Linked DNA regions of Homo sapiens: region 1 is linked to region 2. The links are contacts of gene promoters, found by promoter capture Hi-C in human tissues and cell types (Jung and others, 2019). All regions are on one chromosome and are shown on one strand. Each heading gives the region's core, a stretch centred on a gene start or on the middle of the fragment in contact. The rest is flanking DNA. Distances are from core to core; before and after follow the strand shown. Region 1 overlaps LOC107984341 (a long non-coding RNA gene). Region 2 holds the start of NUDT8 (nudix hydrolase 8).

Region 1 (7,387 bases), core at 3,827-6,326, 520 kb before region 2:
CATGCCTGTAATCCCAGCTACTTGAGAGGCTGAGGCAGAACAATTGCTTGAACTCAGGAGGCGGAAGTTTCAGTGAGCAGAGATTGTGCCATTGCTGCTTTCCACCTGAGTGATAGAGCAAGACTCCATCTCAAAAAAAAAAAAAAAAAATTAGCTGGGCATGGTGGTGTGTACCTGTAGTCCCAGCTACTGGGAAGGCTGAGGTGGGAGGATGGCTTAAGACCAGGAGGCAGAGGTTTCGGTGAGCTGAGATTGTGCCACTGCACTCCAGCCTGGACAACAGAGTGACACTCTGTCTCCAAAACAAACAAAAAAAAGAAAATAAAATACTGAATACCGCTGGGCATGGTGGCTCACCCCTGTAATCTCAGCACTTTGGGAGGATGAGGTGTGGAAGTCAGGTGGCCTCACTTGAGGTCAGGGGTTTTGAGATCGGCTTGGGACAACACAGGGACTCGAGCCCAGGAGGTTGAGGCTGCAGTGAGCTATGATCGTGCCAGTGCATTCCAGCCTGCCTGGGTGACAGAAGGAAAGACCTTGTCAAAAAAAAAAAAAAAAGGAAAGAAATGTAAAATAGTAAGACATATTATAGAAACTACCAACATTTACGCAAAGCATAAACCTTCACCCATGGAAACATATAAACTAAAAATATATCGGGCCAGGCACAGTGACTCATTTCTGTAAACCCAAGCCAGCCTTTGGAAGGCTGAGGCAGGAGGATCCCATGAGGCCAGGAGTTTGAGACTAGTCTGGGCAACATAGTGGGACCCCCATCTCTACAAAAAATTTAAAAATTAGCTAGGGGGCCGGGCGCAGTGGCTCACGCCTGTAGTCCCAGCCCTTTGGGTGGCCAAGGTGGGCGGATCACTTGAGGTTAAGAGATTGAGACCATCCTGGCCAACATGGTGAAATCCTGTCTCTACTGAAAATACAAAAATTAGCCAGGTGTGGTGGCGCACGCCTATAAACCCAGCTACTCAGGAGGCCGAGGCAGGAGAACCTCGTGAACCCCCAGGAAGCCCCAGGAAGCAGAGGCTGCAGTGAGCTGAGATTGCACTTCCGCACTCCAGCCTGGGTGATAGAGTGAGACTCCATCCCAAAAAATAAGAATTATAATAATAAAAAAATAAAATTTAAAAAAATGAAATAAATAGACAGATGGGTAAATCCTGTCATCAGCTCCAGTAATAAAGGAATGAGGTATAGATGTAGGGTCTCCCACATTTCTTCCACCAATAACATTATGCAGGAATAGAAAGTTAATGATATGAAGCTCACCAATAGGAAGATTATTTGATCAACAGTAAAAGTAGATCTAGAAATTATGACCAAATCGAACATGAACTCTAAGCTGTGGCAAATCAAGTATAATTGCAAAAAAAAAAAAAACCATGAAAATCTTACCTTAAACTCAGTCAATATTTTCTTGCAGTCCCCCAGAGAGTGTGAAAATAGATTTAGCCAGAAAGAAGGTAAAGACCAAATACATTTTCAGAGTTTAAATATTTAGCAAGCATTTTTTGGGGGAAAAAACAATATTGTCATTTTAAAGTTACACTGTTTAAATATAATGTACATTATAATTAAAGAGATATAATGAAAAATAATTGATTGGAGATATTAAGCTTATAATATCACATCAAAAGCTGCACTCCTGTCTGGGCGCGGTGGCTCATGCCTGTAATCCCAGCACTTTCGGAGGCCAAGGTGGGCAGAACACTTGAGGTCAGGAGTTTGAGACCAGCCTGGCCAACATGGTAAAACCCTGTTTCTACTAAAAATACAAAAATTAGCCGGGTGCGGTGGTGTGCAACTGTAATCCCTGCTACTTGGGAGGCTGAGGCAGGAGAATCGCTTGAACCCAGGAGGCAGAGATTACAGTGAGCCGAGATTACTCCACTGTACTCCAGTCTGGGCAACAGAGCAAGACCTTGTCTCAAAAAAAAACACCAAAAACGAGCGGGAGCAGTGGCTCACTCCTGTAATCCTAGCACTTTGGGAGGCCGAGGCAGGCAGATCATCTGAGGTCAGGAGTTTGATACCAGCCTGGCCAACATGGTGAAACCCTGTCTCTACTGAAAATACAAAAATGAGCCAGGCATGGTGGTAAGTGCCTGCAGTCCCAGCTACTTGGGAGGCTGAGGCAGGAGAATCTCTTGAACCTGGGAGGCGGAGGTTGCAGTGAGCCGGGATCATGCCACTGCACTCCAGCCTGGGCAACAGAGCAAGACACCATCTCAAAAAAAAAGAAGTCCAGGTGTGGTGGCTCATGCCTGTAATCCCAGGATTTTGGCAGGCTGAGGCAGGAGGTCAGGAGTTCGAGACCAGCCTGACCAACATGGAGAAACCACGTCTCTACTAAAAATACAAAAAATTAGCTGAGCATGGTGGTGGGCGCCTGTAATCCCAGCTACTCGGGAGGCTGAGGCAGGAGAATCGCTTGAATCTGGGAAGTGGAGGCTGTGGTGAGCCGAGATCACGCTAGTGCACTGCAGTCCAAGCAATGGAGCGATACTACGTCTCAAAAAAAAAAAATCTTGTGGCCACGTGCAGTGGCTCATGCCTGTAATCCTAGCACTTTGGGAGGCAGGCCAATAGCTTGAGACCAGGATTTGGAGACCAGCCAGGGCAACAGGGCAAAAACCCATCTCTACTAAAAATCCAAATACAAAAATTAGCCAGGTGTGGTGGCATGTGCCTGTAGTCCCAGCTATTCAGGAGGCTGAGGTGGGAAGACTGATCACCTGAGCCTGGGAGGTGGAGACTGCAGTGAGCTGAGAGTGCACCACTGCACTCTAGCCTGGGTGCCAGAGCAAGACCCTGTCTAAAAACAAAACAAAATAAAAAAAGTTGCACTGTGACGTGGACTCTAAAGTCAACATCCTAAACTGGAGACAGTAGAGGTAAGTGGAGCAGAAAGACAAGATCACAAGAGGAGCTGGAATAAAAAGACAGTGAAGAACTTGGCCCAAGATTCACATACCTCCTGGCTTGGTTTGCAGTAGTACAGGATTTGGTTTCTATCACTTCTATTCCAGCTGCAATGACAGCTGCAGGAACAGTTTCTCTGCAACAATTACTATTACATCAACCTTCTCTGCTCCAGAACATATGTGCCTCTCTTGCTCTCACAAAACCAAGCTTCTCTGCAAGGATTCAATGCTCTCCAGCCTTCATATTCCTTCCCTCAAAAGCAACACTGCACTACTTTATTGGCTGATTCAATAAATATGAAGGAATGAGTGCCAACTATGCCTGGCACTGTTCTAGGCATTGGGGAATCCAGCAATGAACAAAACTTCCTGCCCCACGGGGCTTATATCCAAGTGCAATTTGAAGACCAGTTCTTATGGTCTAAATGATCTTCCAGCAATTCATTGGAATGATGATTGTTCTCTGAGTATGTCACATCTTCATGGTGTCCTTTCTTCGATATGAAGTTTTCGAAGGTAAAAGTCAAGCCTTCTAACTTTTCAAATCTCCTTTCTCTATCCAAGCACTTAATTTAGCATTGGGCACAGTGTACTCAGTAAGTACCCAAATCCTACATGTAGGAGAAAAAGAAACTGGACAATGCATTGTACACTTAAAACTTTGTTAAAATGGTAAATCTCACATCAAGTGTTCTTACCACAATAAAATAAAAATAAATTTAAAATAGGAGAACTGGCCAGGTGCAGTGGCTCATGCCTGTAATCCCAGGCACTTTGGGAGGTCAAGGCAGGAGTATCACATGAGGCCAGGAGTTCGAGACCAGCCTGGGGAACATAGTGAGACCCTGTTTCTATGAAAAAAAAAATTACCAAGTAAAAAATTTTTTAAAAATAGGAAAACCAGAAATCCTTTTTTTTTCTTTTTTTTTTTGAGATGGAGTTTCACTCTTGTTGTCCAGGCTGGAGTGCAAAAGCGCGATTTCGGGTCACTGCAACCTCTGCCTCCCGGGTTCAAGTGATTCTCCTGTCTCAGCCTCCCAAGTAGCTGTGATTACAGGCATGTGCCACCATGCCCAGCTAATTTTGTATTTTTAGTAGACATGGGGTTTCTCCATGTTGGTCAGGCTGGTCTCGAACTCCCAACCTCAGGTGATCTGCCCACCTTGGCCTCCCAAAGTGCTGGGATTACAGGCATGAGGCACTGTGCAAGACCTCAGAAATCCTTTCTAAAATAAGTTGTCTTCTAGTTTCCAAAGGGTATTCATGTCCATTAGTCCATTTCACTCCACAACAATCCTAGGAGGAAACAGGGCAGGAGTCACTACTTCTGTTTTATTTATATACATTATATATATAAAATATATATGTTTTAAATATATGTTTTATATATATTATATATATTTATATACATGTATTATGTTTTATATATATTATATATATTTATATACATATATTATATATAATATATATTTTTTTGAGACAGAGTCTTGCTCTGTTGCCCAGGCTAGAGTGCAGTGGCACGATCTCGGGCTCACTGCAACCTCCGCCTGCCTCCCAGGCTTAAGTGATTCTCCTACCTCAGCCTCCCGAGTAGCTGGGAATACAGGCATGTGCCACCGCGCCCAGCTAATTTTTGTATTTTTAGTAGAGATAGGGTTTCACAATGTTGCCCAGGCTGGTCTTGAACTCCTGACCTCAGGTGATCTGCCCGCCTTGGTCTCCCAAAGTGCTGGGATTACAGGCTTAAGCCACCGCGCCCAGCCTACTCTGTTTTATTAAAGAGAACTGAAGTTCTGACGGGTTCAGAACCTCTCACAAAGTGGCTGAAGGAACACCAGCTTTAGCAGAAACTGATGAAAGGTAGCGAATGCCCTTGAAGAAGATAAAAAAAGATCAGACTCATTGGGAGGGGCTAAACAGGTCTAAGTGCTTAAGCATTTGGCCCTTTGGGGAAGTGGCTGGAGCCCTGTATGACTGTCACCACCAACCCAAGCTGGGAATCTAGTGCAAGGTTGCAAACAGACCCTGAAACCCCAGGGTGCCAGAAACTTCCCCCAGCAAGCACAGGTGTAGCTGAGGCACAGGCTCTGCATCTTAGAGCTCCACTCTCGGGCACAGCAGGAAGTCCCACCCTTTTAGAAGTGAGAAATGAGGGTGGCCTGGCCCCAAAGCGAAGCTAAGGCTGCTAAAGAGCAGGTGGGGCCCAGACACTGCTGCAGTTGCCCCAACAGCCAAAGTACACCCCAGCGCTCAGGAGCAGTGGGTCTGCACAGCGGAAGGTGACATACCTGGAAAAGATGGCAGCAAGGAAGCATGGGGCCAGGGAGGGTGGTGGTCCCATGGTCCCAAGGAAAGCGTCAGCCACATTCCATGCAAGAACCTCATGTGACACCCATGTTTGATGATCCAAGAATCTGCAGGGCATTTCTGCTTCATTTTTTTCCCCCTGATCAATTCAGGTTCCAAACTCAAAAAAAAAAAAAAAAGAAAAGAAAAGAAAAAAGAAAGAAAACTTTCAGCTGGGCGTGGTGGCTCACGGCTGTAATCCCAGCACTTTGGGAGGCGGAGGTGGGTGGATCACCAGGTCAGGAATTCGAGACCAGCCTGGCCAACATGGTGAAACCCCGTCTCTACTAAAAATACAAAAATTAGCCAGGCACGGTGGCGGGCACCTGTAATTCCAGCTACTCAGGAGGCTGAGACAGGTGAATCGCTTGAACCCAGGAGGTGGAGTTTGCAGTGAGCTGAGATCGCGCCACTGCACTCTAGCCTGGGCAACAGAGCGAGACTCCAACTCAAAAAAAGAAAAAAAAGAAAACTTTCTATCACTTAAAGCTTATAATCACCCCCCAACACCCTTTAACCCTAGAAGAAGTTTTCTTTCTTTTTTTCTTTTTTCCCGGGGTGGGGGGTGCGGGTGGAGGGAGATGTTCAGGAAATGGTTAAGTAACAAAATCAGAGAGCACGGGATTGAGGTGATTAAGGGCAACAAATGGATGGTAAAGGAAAGTGGGAAAGCCATTCAGTCAGATGATACTGGGCCAGGAGAGTGAGATGAACATGGAGGAGGGGGTGGGCCAAATGATGGAGAGAAGGCTGGAAAGAAAGAGACTTCAGGAGGCAGGTGATGAGGAGAAAGAGGCAGCTGGAGTCAGGGAAGAGGGAAGAATAGAAAGCGGAGACACCAGGGTCGGGGGTCGGGGAGAGAAACCAGGAGTTAGGATAGGGAAGAGGGCCGGGTGTGGTGGCTCATGCCTGTTATCCCAGCACTTTGGGAGGCAGAGGGGGGCGGATCACCTGAGACAGGGAGTTTGAGACCAGCCTGGCCAACATGGTGAAACCCTGTCTCTACTAAAAACACAAAAATTAGCCAGGCATGGTGGCGGGTGCTTGTAATCCCAACTTCTCAGGAAGCTGAGGCAGGAGAATTGCTTGTACCCGGGAGGTGGAGGTTGCAGCGAGCCAAGATCATGCCATTGCACTCCAGGCTGGGTGACACGGTGAGACTGTCTCAAAAAAAAAAAAAAAAAAAAAAGGGAGGGGGAAGAGAATCGAGGAATAAGTCATCACACTTAATGTCTATGCAAACTCTTGACTCACATGAAAACTTCAAGTTTCTTAAATATTGAAGCATCTTTACTTAAAACCTTCCTTCCCTTCTTTTTTTTTTTTTTTTTTTTTTTTAGAGACATGGTTTCACTGTCACTCAGGCTGAAGTGCAGTGGCATAGTCATAGTTCATAGTCCAACTCCTGGGCTCCAGCAATCCTCCACCTCAGTCTCTTTTTTTGTTTGTTTTTTTTTGAGACGGAGTCTCCCTCTGTTGCCCAGGCTGGAGTGCAGTGGCGCGATCTCGGCTCCCTGCAACCTCCGCCTCCCTGGTTCAAACGGTTCTCCTGCCTCAGCCTCCTGAGTGGCTGGGATTACAGGCAGGGACTACAATGCTCAGCTATTTTTTGTATTTGTAGTAGAGACGGGGTTTCACTATGTTGGCCAGGCTGGTCTCAAACTCCTGACCTCATGATCCGCCTGCCTCGGCCTCCCAAAGTGCTGGGATTACAGGCGTGAGCCATGGCGCCCGGCCAAAGCTTTTTAGCCACTGATTATGCTACCTCCTGGGGAACCTTCACAACCAACTTCTCTATTTTAGTTTAGACCTACACTGTTTGGGACATCTTTACTTCCTCCTTAACATTTAAGGAGAAATTGGAAATAGTTTAGCTTAACCAGACTAAAGAGTTCTCTTTTCACACCCTAAAGTCTCCCAAAAGAAATGGGTGGGCCGGGCGTGGTGGCGGACGCCTGTAATCCCAGCTACTTGGAGGCTGAGGCGGGAGAATTGCTTGAACCCAGGAGGTGAAGGTTGCAGTGAGCCAAGATTGAGCCACTGCACTCCAGCCTGGGCAACAAGAGCAAAACTCCATCCCAAAAAAAGAAAAGAAGAGAAAATAA
Region 2 (6,494 bases), core at 3,985-6,484:
TGGCCTCACTGTTTAAGGGTAGTTGCAGCAGTGGCCGTCTTAGCATCAGAGGCTATCAAAATAATACAAGGAAAGGATCTCACTGTCTAGACTACTTATGATGTAAATGGCATACTAGGTGCCAAAGGAAGTTTATGGCTATCAGACAACTGCCTACTTAGATACCAGGCACTACTCCTTGAGGGACCAGTGCTTCAAATATGCACATGCATGGCCCTCAACCCTGCCACTTTTCTCCCAGAGGATGGGGAACCAATCAAGCATGACTGCCAACAAATTATAGTCCAGACTTATGCCGCCCGAGATGATCTCTTAGAAGTCCCCTTAACTAATCCTGACCTTAACCTATATACTGATGGAAGTTCATTTGTGGAGAATGGGATACGAAGGTTAGTGATGTAACCATACTTGAAAGCAAGCCTCTTCCCCCAGGGACCAGTGCCCAGTTAGCGGAACTAGTGGCACTTACCCGGGCCTTAGAACTGGGAAAGGGAAAAAGAATAAATGTGTATACAGATAGCAAGTATGCTTATCTAATCCTACATGCCCATGCTGCAATATGGAAAGAGAGGGAGTTCCTAACCTCTGTAGGAACCCCCATTAAATACCACAAGGAAATTATAGAGTTATTGCACGCAATGCAAAAACACAAAGAGGTGGGAATCTTACACTGACAAAGCCATCAGAATAGGAAGGAGAGGGGAGAACAGCAGCATAAGCAGCTGGCAGAGGCAGCAGAAAGGAAAGAGACAGGAAGTCAAAGAAAGAGACAGAGAGGAAGAGACAAGAAGTTAGAGAGAAAGAGGGACAGACACAGAAAGTCAAAGAGAGGGTAAAAAAGAGAGGAAGAGACAAAGAAGAAGTCAAAGAGAGAGATGGAAGTAGTAAAGAAAAAACAGTGTACCTATTCCTTTAAAAGCCAGGGTAAATTTCTCTCTACCCAGCCAAGGCATATTCTCTTATGTGGATCTTCAACCCATATCTGCCTCTCAAAGTTGGAAGAAATAATGAAATCTATCCTTACTTTACAATCCCAAATAGACTCTTTGGCAGCAGTGACTCTCCAAAACCGCTGAGGCCTAGATCTCCTCACTGCTGAAAAAGGAGGACTCTGCACCTTCTTAGGGGAAGAGTGTTGTTTTTACACTAACCAGTCAGGGATAGCATGAGATGCCACCCAGCGTTTACAGGAAAAGGCTTCTGAAATCAGACGCCTTTCAAATTCTTATACCAACCTCTGGAGTTGGGCAACATGGCTTCTCCCCTTTCTAGGTCCCGTGGCAGCCATCTTGCTGTTACTCGCCTTTGGGCCCTGTATTTTTAACCTTCTTGTCAAATTTGTTTCCTCTAGAATCGAGGCCATCAAGCTACAGATGGTCTTACAAATGGAACCCCAAATGAGTTCAACTAACAACTTCTACCGAGGACCCCTGGACTGACCAGCTGGCACTTCCCCTGGCCTAGAGAGTTCCCCTCTGAAGGACACTACAACTGCAAAGCCCCTTCTTCGCCCCTATCCAGCAGGAAGTAGCTAGAGCAGTCATCGGCCAAATTCCCAACAGCAGTTGGGGTGTCCTGTTGATTGAGGGGAGACAGCATGCTGGCAGTCCTCACAGCCCTCACTCGCTCGCTCACTCTCGGCACCTCCTCTGCCTGGGCTCCCACTTTGGCAGCACTTGAGGAGCCCTTCAGCTCTGTATCTAGCTACTCTGATGGGTCCTTGGAGAACCTTTATGTCTAGCTCAGGGATTGTAAATACACCAATCAGCACCCTGTGTCTAGCTCAGGGTTTGTGAATGCACCAATGGACACTCTGTATCTAGCTACTCTGGTGGGGCCTTGGAGAACCTTTGTGTCAACACTCTGTATCTAACTAACCTGGTGGGGATGTGGAGAACCTTTGTGTCTAGCTCAGGGATTGTAAACGCACCAATCAGTGCCCTGTCAAACCACTCGGCTCTACCAATCAGCAGGATGTGGGTGGGGCCAGATAAGAGAATAAAAGCAGGCTGCCCGAGCCAGCAGTGGCAACCCGCTCAGGTCCCCTTCCACACTGTGGAAGCTTTGTTCTTTCGCTCTTTGCAATACATCTTGCTACTGCTCACTCTTTGGGTCCACACTGCTTTTATGAGCTGTAACACTCACCACAAAGGTCTGTAGCTTCACTCCTGAGCCAGCGAGACCACGAACTCACCAGAAGGAAGAAACTCCAAACACATCCGAACATCAGAAGAAACAAACTCCAGACGCACCACCTTAAGAGCTGTAACACTCACTGTGAGGGTCCATGGCTTCATTCTTGAAGTCAGTGAGACCAAGAACCCACCAATTCCGGACACACAACCGGCCATGTGACAGGCTCAGGGAAGGACATGTGACTCAAGGCAGGCCAGTGAAGTGCAATTCTAGGTTAGACTGGCCGGGAAGGAGCGGCCGTGTTTTCTGTTGATGGATGCTGCTGCCCTCTCCTCAACCTCTCACGCTCTGCACTACAGACAACCTCCTTGGGGCTGAGGCCAGCACAGCGCAAAGCACAGCAAGAGGGGAGCCCGAGCCCCTGGATCCAGCCATCCTCCACGGCAAGCTCAGACCACCCGCTCCCTCAGCTCTTTCACAGAACCCTGGTCTACCTAGTTGATGTCTTATATAATTCCACTATTATCTGTGATTAATTAATGTGGAACCACATGATTATCTGTGTGACCTGGTCTGAGGTCTCCCCTAGACTGAGCACCCCCTCTGGACGGCAGGTGAGCATCTGACCGGTCCACAGCTGTGGCCCCCACACAGCAGCTGGCACACACAGGGGCTCTGCATGTTAGACTCCTGCAGTAACACCCAGGGGCATGGGTGCGCCTTACTCCTCTCTGGGATCCCGGAGCCCAGCACAGCGTCAGCCAGGCACAGCAGAGAGAACAGGAGGTGCAGGCTGAGACAGGGCAGTGCAGTGCCTAAGAGTCTGGGCTGTGGAGTCTGAGAGCTCTGGTTCCAATCCCAGCGTGGGGCCCTTAGGCAAGGTGTCTCTCCTCCCTGAAAGCAGTCTCACCAGCCAGAGACAGTGTTGGCCCTGCCTTATGGGCTGTTGTGAGGGTGAGATGAATTGACTCCAAGTACTTGGCACCCAGGAAGTGTCCATTGCTGTGGGGCATGGCGTGACTGGAAGGAGGAGCCCCAGCCAGCGACCTGGAGTGGTCTGCCCAAGGTCAAGGCCCCAGTACAGCAGAAGCAAGAGCTCTAGAGCTGTCAAAGACCTTTATTCAGTCCTGGAGTGGAGCTGGCCTGACAGGGTGAAGCCAGGGGCTGCTTAGGGCGGGCCAGACCCTCAGCCCCTGAGCAGGTCAGGCCGGCCAGGCGGGGCTGGTAGGTACCAGGTGCCAGCAGCTGCAGGGCAAACTCAGTGATGACAGCTGTGAGGCCCCAGACCCGGTGTGGTCCATGCAGGAAGACGGGTAGTGTGTAGCGGAAGTGGCCACCCCGGCAGAAGTGGGTATAGCCCTGATTCTGCGTCTGCAGCAGGTGGGCCAGCGGCAGTGCAAACACCTCATCTACCTGCAGGCAGGAGGCAGAGAGGGTAGACAGAGGACTGGAACAGCCCAACCCCCTCATATCCCCCAGCTCACCTCCTCCGAGTTGGGCCTGAGGCTCTGGGGATCCAGTGGGCCTACACCAGCAAGCACTGGCACCACGGTGGCCTTTTGCTGGGGAAGAGGGCAGGTGGTCAGGGAAGCATGGCCTTCGCTGGGTTTGAAGGCTGGGGAGGGGAGTGTGAGAGGAAGACCCCTTTGCCATGCATAGGCCTTTGGTAGTCATGTTCGGGTCCACCTGCCTGTGTCCTCCAGCCATGCTGACTGACTCAGGTCCCCTCAAATGCACTAGACCTGTTCCCTCTGCTTAGGACAATCTCCCACTTGGCATTCAAGCCTGGGTTCAATCCCTGCCTACCCCATGAAGCTTCCCTGACCCTAATCCACCAAACTGAGTGGAGCTGGCCCACCCCATCGCCCTGGGCCACCTCTACTCAGGACACCAGAGCCTCCCCAATCCCTTCCCGAGGGGGTGTGTGGGGTGGTGCATGTGACCAGGCAGGTTAGGGGCACCCTTCCACACTTTGTGCCCGTGGGGGTCCATGACCACTCTCCTGGTCCCTGGTAGCCCAGCTCCAGGGCAGGCACAGAGTGAGTGAATGGGGTGGGGTGGCCTCAGCCAAGTGGCTTACCGGATCATACACAGGCCGCAGCAGGCCCCACACGTGCTCCTCGGGCACTGCCAGGCCCAGCTCCTCCCGGGTTTCCCGCAGGGCCGTGTGCACCACATCTTGGTCAGCCGGGTCGCACTTGCCGCCTGGGAAACTAAACAGACACAAGGAGTCTGGTCCTTGGACTCTTGGGGCCACGGAGAGGTCGGGGTATCGGCAGTGCGGGGGGGGCCACTGGCCCACCGAAGTGTCGCCTGCCTCTGCCCCTAGTTTACTGGGAGGCCCCAGGCAAGCCATGCGACCTCTGGAGGCCAGTTTACCTCCCTGAGCAATGGGGATAAGGAAGAGAGGCCCGGGACAGCGCAGGATAAGAGGGTCTGCAGCAGGGGCAAGAAGATCCTGGGGCTCAGATACCCAAATTCGGCCTATGGTGGCCCCAGCAACACTGACATTGTCCTCAGGATGTTCTTAATTCCCGCCGGGCGGGGCCCGAACCTCTCCGTAGTCGCCGGCAGGGGGCGGCGTCCGCCCTCTAAGCGGGAAACAGCTCAAAGGGGTGTCCCGGCCCAGGCGTGCGCGCAAGGACGCGTACGAGGGGCCCACGCGGCGAGGACGTGGCGCCCCGGCAGGTGCACCGGGGCCGACGGACACGGATCGCTGACCTCTCGCTGCAGCCCTTGGGCGGAGGGACTCTCCCCAGACCCATTTTACGGAGGCGGAAACCGAGGCTCGAAGGGGCTAAGTGCCCTGCCAGAGGTCCCTGCCAGCCCCGGGCTCCTGTAGCCTCCGGCAAAGGGCGAGGAGTTCCCGGCCGCTGTACCTGACGTCGCCCTTGTGCCTCCCGGTCAGGCGGCTGGACCGCAGCGTGTACAGCAGCGCCGGGACCCCACGCACTGAGCAGAGCGGCACGAGCACCGCGGCCGACGCGGGCCGCGCGCGGAGCCGGGCCGTGGCCCCTGCCAGCAGCCGGCGGCAGCGCAGCTCGCCCTCGGCCGACAGGCAGTCGGGCAGCATGTCAAGTCCTGCGCGGCCGGGACACTGAGGGCGCGGGATCGGGCGAGGGAAGAGGCGGGGCGAGGCGGGGCGGGGCGCTCAGCCCGGGTCCCTCCGAAAGCTGAGAGGGAGAAGGGGCAGCCCGCGCGACGCGTCCCGCCTGGGGGGCTGCAGAGCGGCAGCGGCGTCGGGGGGCCTCAGTGGGGTGGGTCTGTTCGTGGGCGGGGCCTTCCCGGAGACGGGGCCTCGGTGGGACTGGGTCTGTTCGGGGGCGGGGCCTGTTTGAAGGCGGGTCCTCGGTGGGACGGGGTCCGTTAGGGGGCGGGGCCTGTTTGAAGGCGGGGCCTCGGTGGGACGCGTTGAGTCCCCCGGATGGGAGGGACGGAGGGCGGCGGGGCGGGGCGGGGCGGGGCCTGCGCGGGAGCCGGACTCGGACGTTACTGCCAAAGGGCGGCGGGGCCTAGTAGGCAATCGAGGTTGGGGCGGGCTGGGGGCGGGGCCTGGACCGGAGCTTTTGCTACGAAGGACTGGGGGGCGTGGCCAGGAGGACTGTGCTTCCGGCAGGGCCGGGCCGTGGCCGGGGGTGTGGCCGCGGGGAGGGAGATGGGCGCGGAGCTGCAGGACCTGCCGGTTGTGTTCTCCGAGATCCTGAAACCACGCGAACCGTGAAGCGCCCGGCGACCGTCCTCGGTCCCGTTGGGTCCTGGCGTTGGGGTGTCTGATGAGGCCCCGCCGGCCCCCACTGGTCCGTCCCTCCCCTAGGGGCTCCAGGATGTACGGAGCCGGGATCCCACGGGGACGCCCCTCCAGGAACCCGAGGTCGATCGGTGCGCGAGAGGAGCGTCCGGCCCAGCCCTCCCTCCGGTCCTCCCTCCCGATACCGCTGGGTGGCGCGCGCCGCCCCCAGTCTTGTCTTCCCCTCTGGCTCCGTCGGACTCCAGCCCCAGGCCTTTGACCTCCTTGTCCCAGCGTCCAGAGCTCTTCTCCCTTCCTGCCTTGAGTCTTGACCGGATTCCCAAATCCCTCCCCCTTTCCTACCTCGGCCCCTGTGGTCACTGACCACCGTGGTTCTGCGCCCTTCCACCAGACCCTGGGCTTGGGGACCAGATGACCCCAGCCTTGCGCACAGCATTTAAACGTGGGGTGGCGGGTGTCCGCCATGCTCTGCTGTGTGACGTTGAGCAGGTCCCGCGCCTCTCTGAGCGCCAGTTTCGATCCTCATCTGGGCAAGTGCAGCCCTGCCACTGGGCTGGAGTCACCACTTTTAATATTACTGTGTGCTCCCAGGGATGCGGACGGCACTGGG

What was found. The method cuts DNA at HindIII sites, captures the fragments that hold promoters and counts their contacts. A contact is called where the count stands out against the background at its distance.
Region 1: a contact is called between a fragment that was not itself captured here and the fragment with the promoter of NUDT8 in region 2, in 1 of the 25 tissues and cell types used here (spleen).

What each region holds. Positions count from the first base shown.
Region 1 is chr11:67,108,424-67,115,810 of GRCh38, forward strand. It overlaps LOC107984341 (a long non-coding RNA gene), which reads right to left. Exons shown (of 2, transcript NR_160735.1): 2 at 3,869-4,232. Among named protein-coding and RNA genes, the nearest start is that of KDM2A, 7.1 kb to the right of the region's middle. The HindIII fragment of the contact is 5,381 bases long and covers 2,387-7,387 here.
Region 2 is chr11:67,624,703-67,631,196 of GRCh38, forward strand. NUDT8 (nudix hydrolase 8) reads right to left here and starts at 5,235. Exons shown (of 4, transcript NM_001243750.2): 1 at 5,016-5,235; 2 at 4,217-4,349; 3 at 3,621-3,698; 4 at 3,236-3,549. The coding sequence starts at 5,209. The coding sequence ends at 3,244. It overlaps LOC124902696 (a long non-coding RNA gene), which reads left to right. Exons shown (of 2, transcript XR_007062741.1): 2 at 1,352-2,691. RefSeq lists an enhancer at 911-1,440 and silencers at 3,776-4,070, 4,638-4,787, 5,078-5,867, 5,988-6,157. The HindIII fragment of the contact is 11,433 bases long and covers 3,007-6,494 here.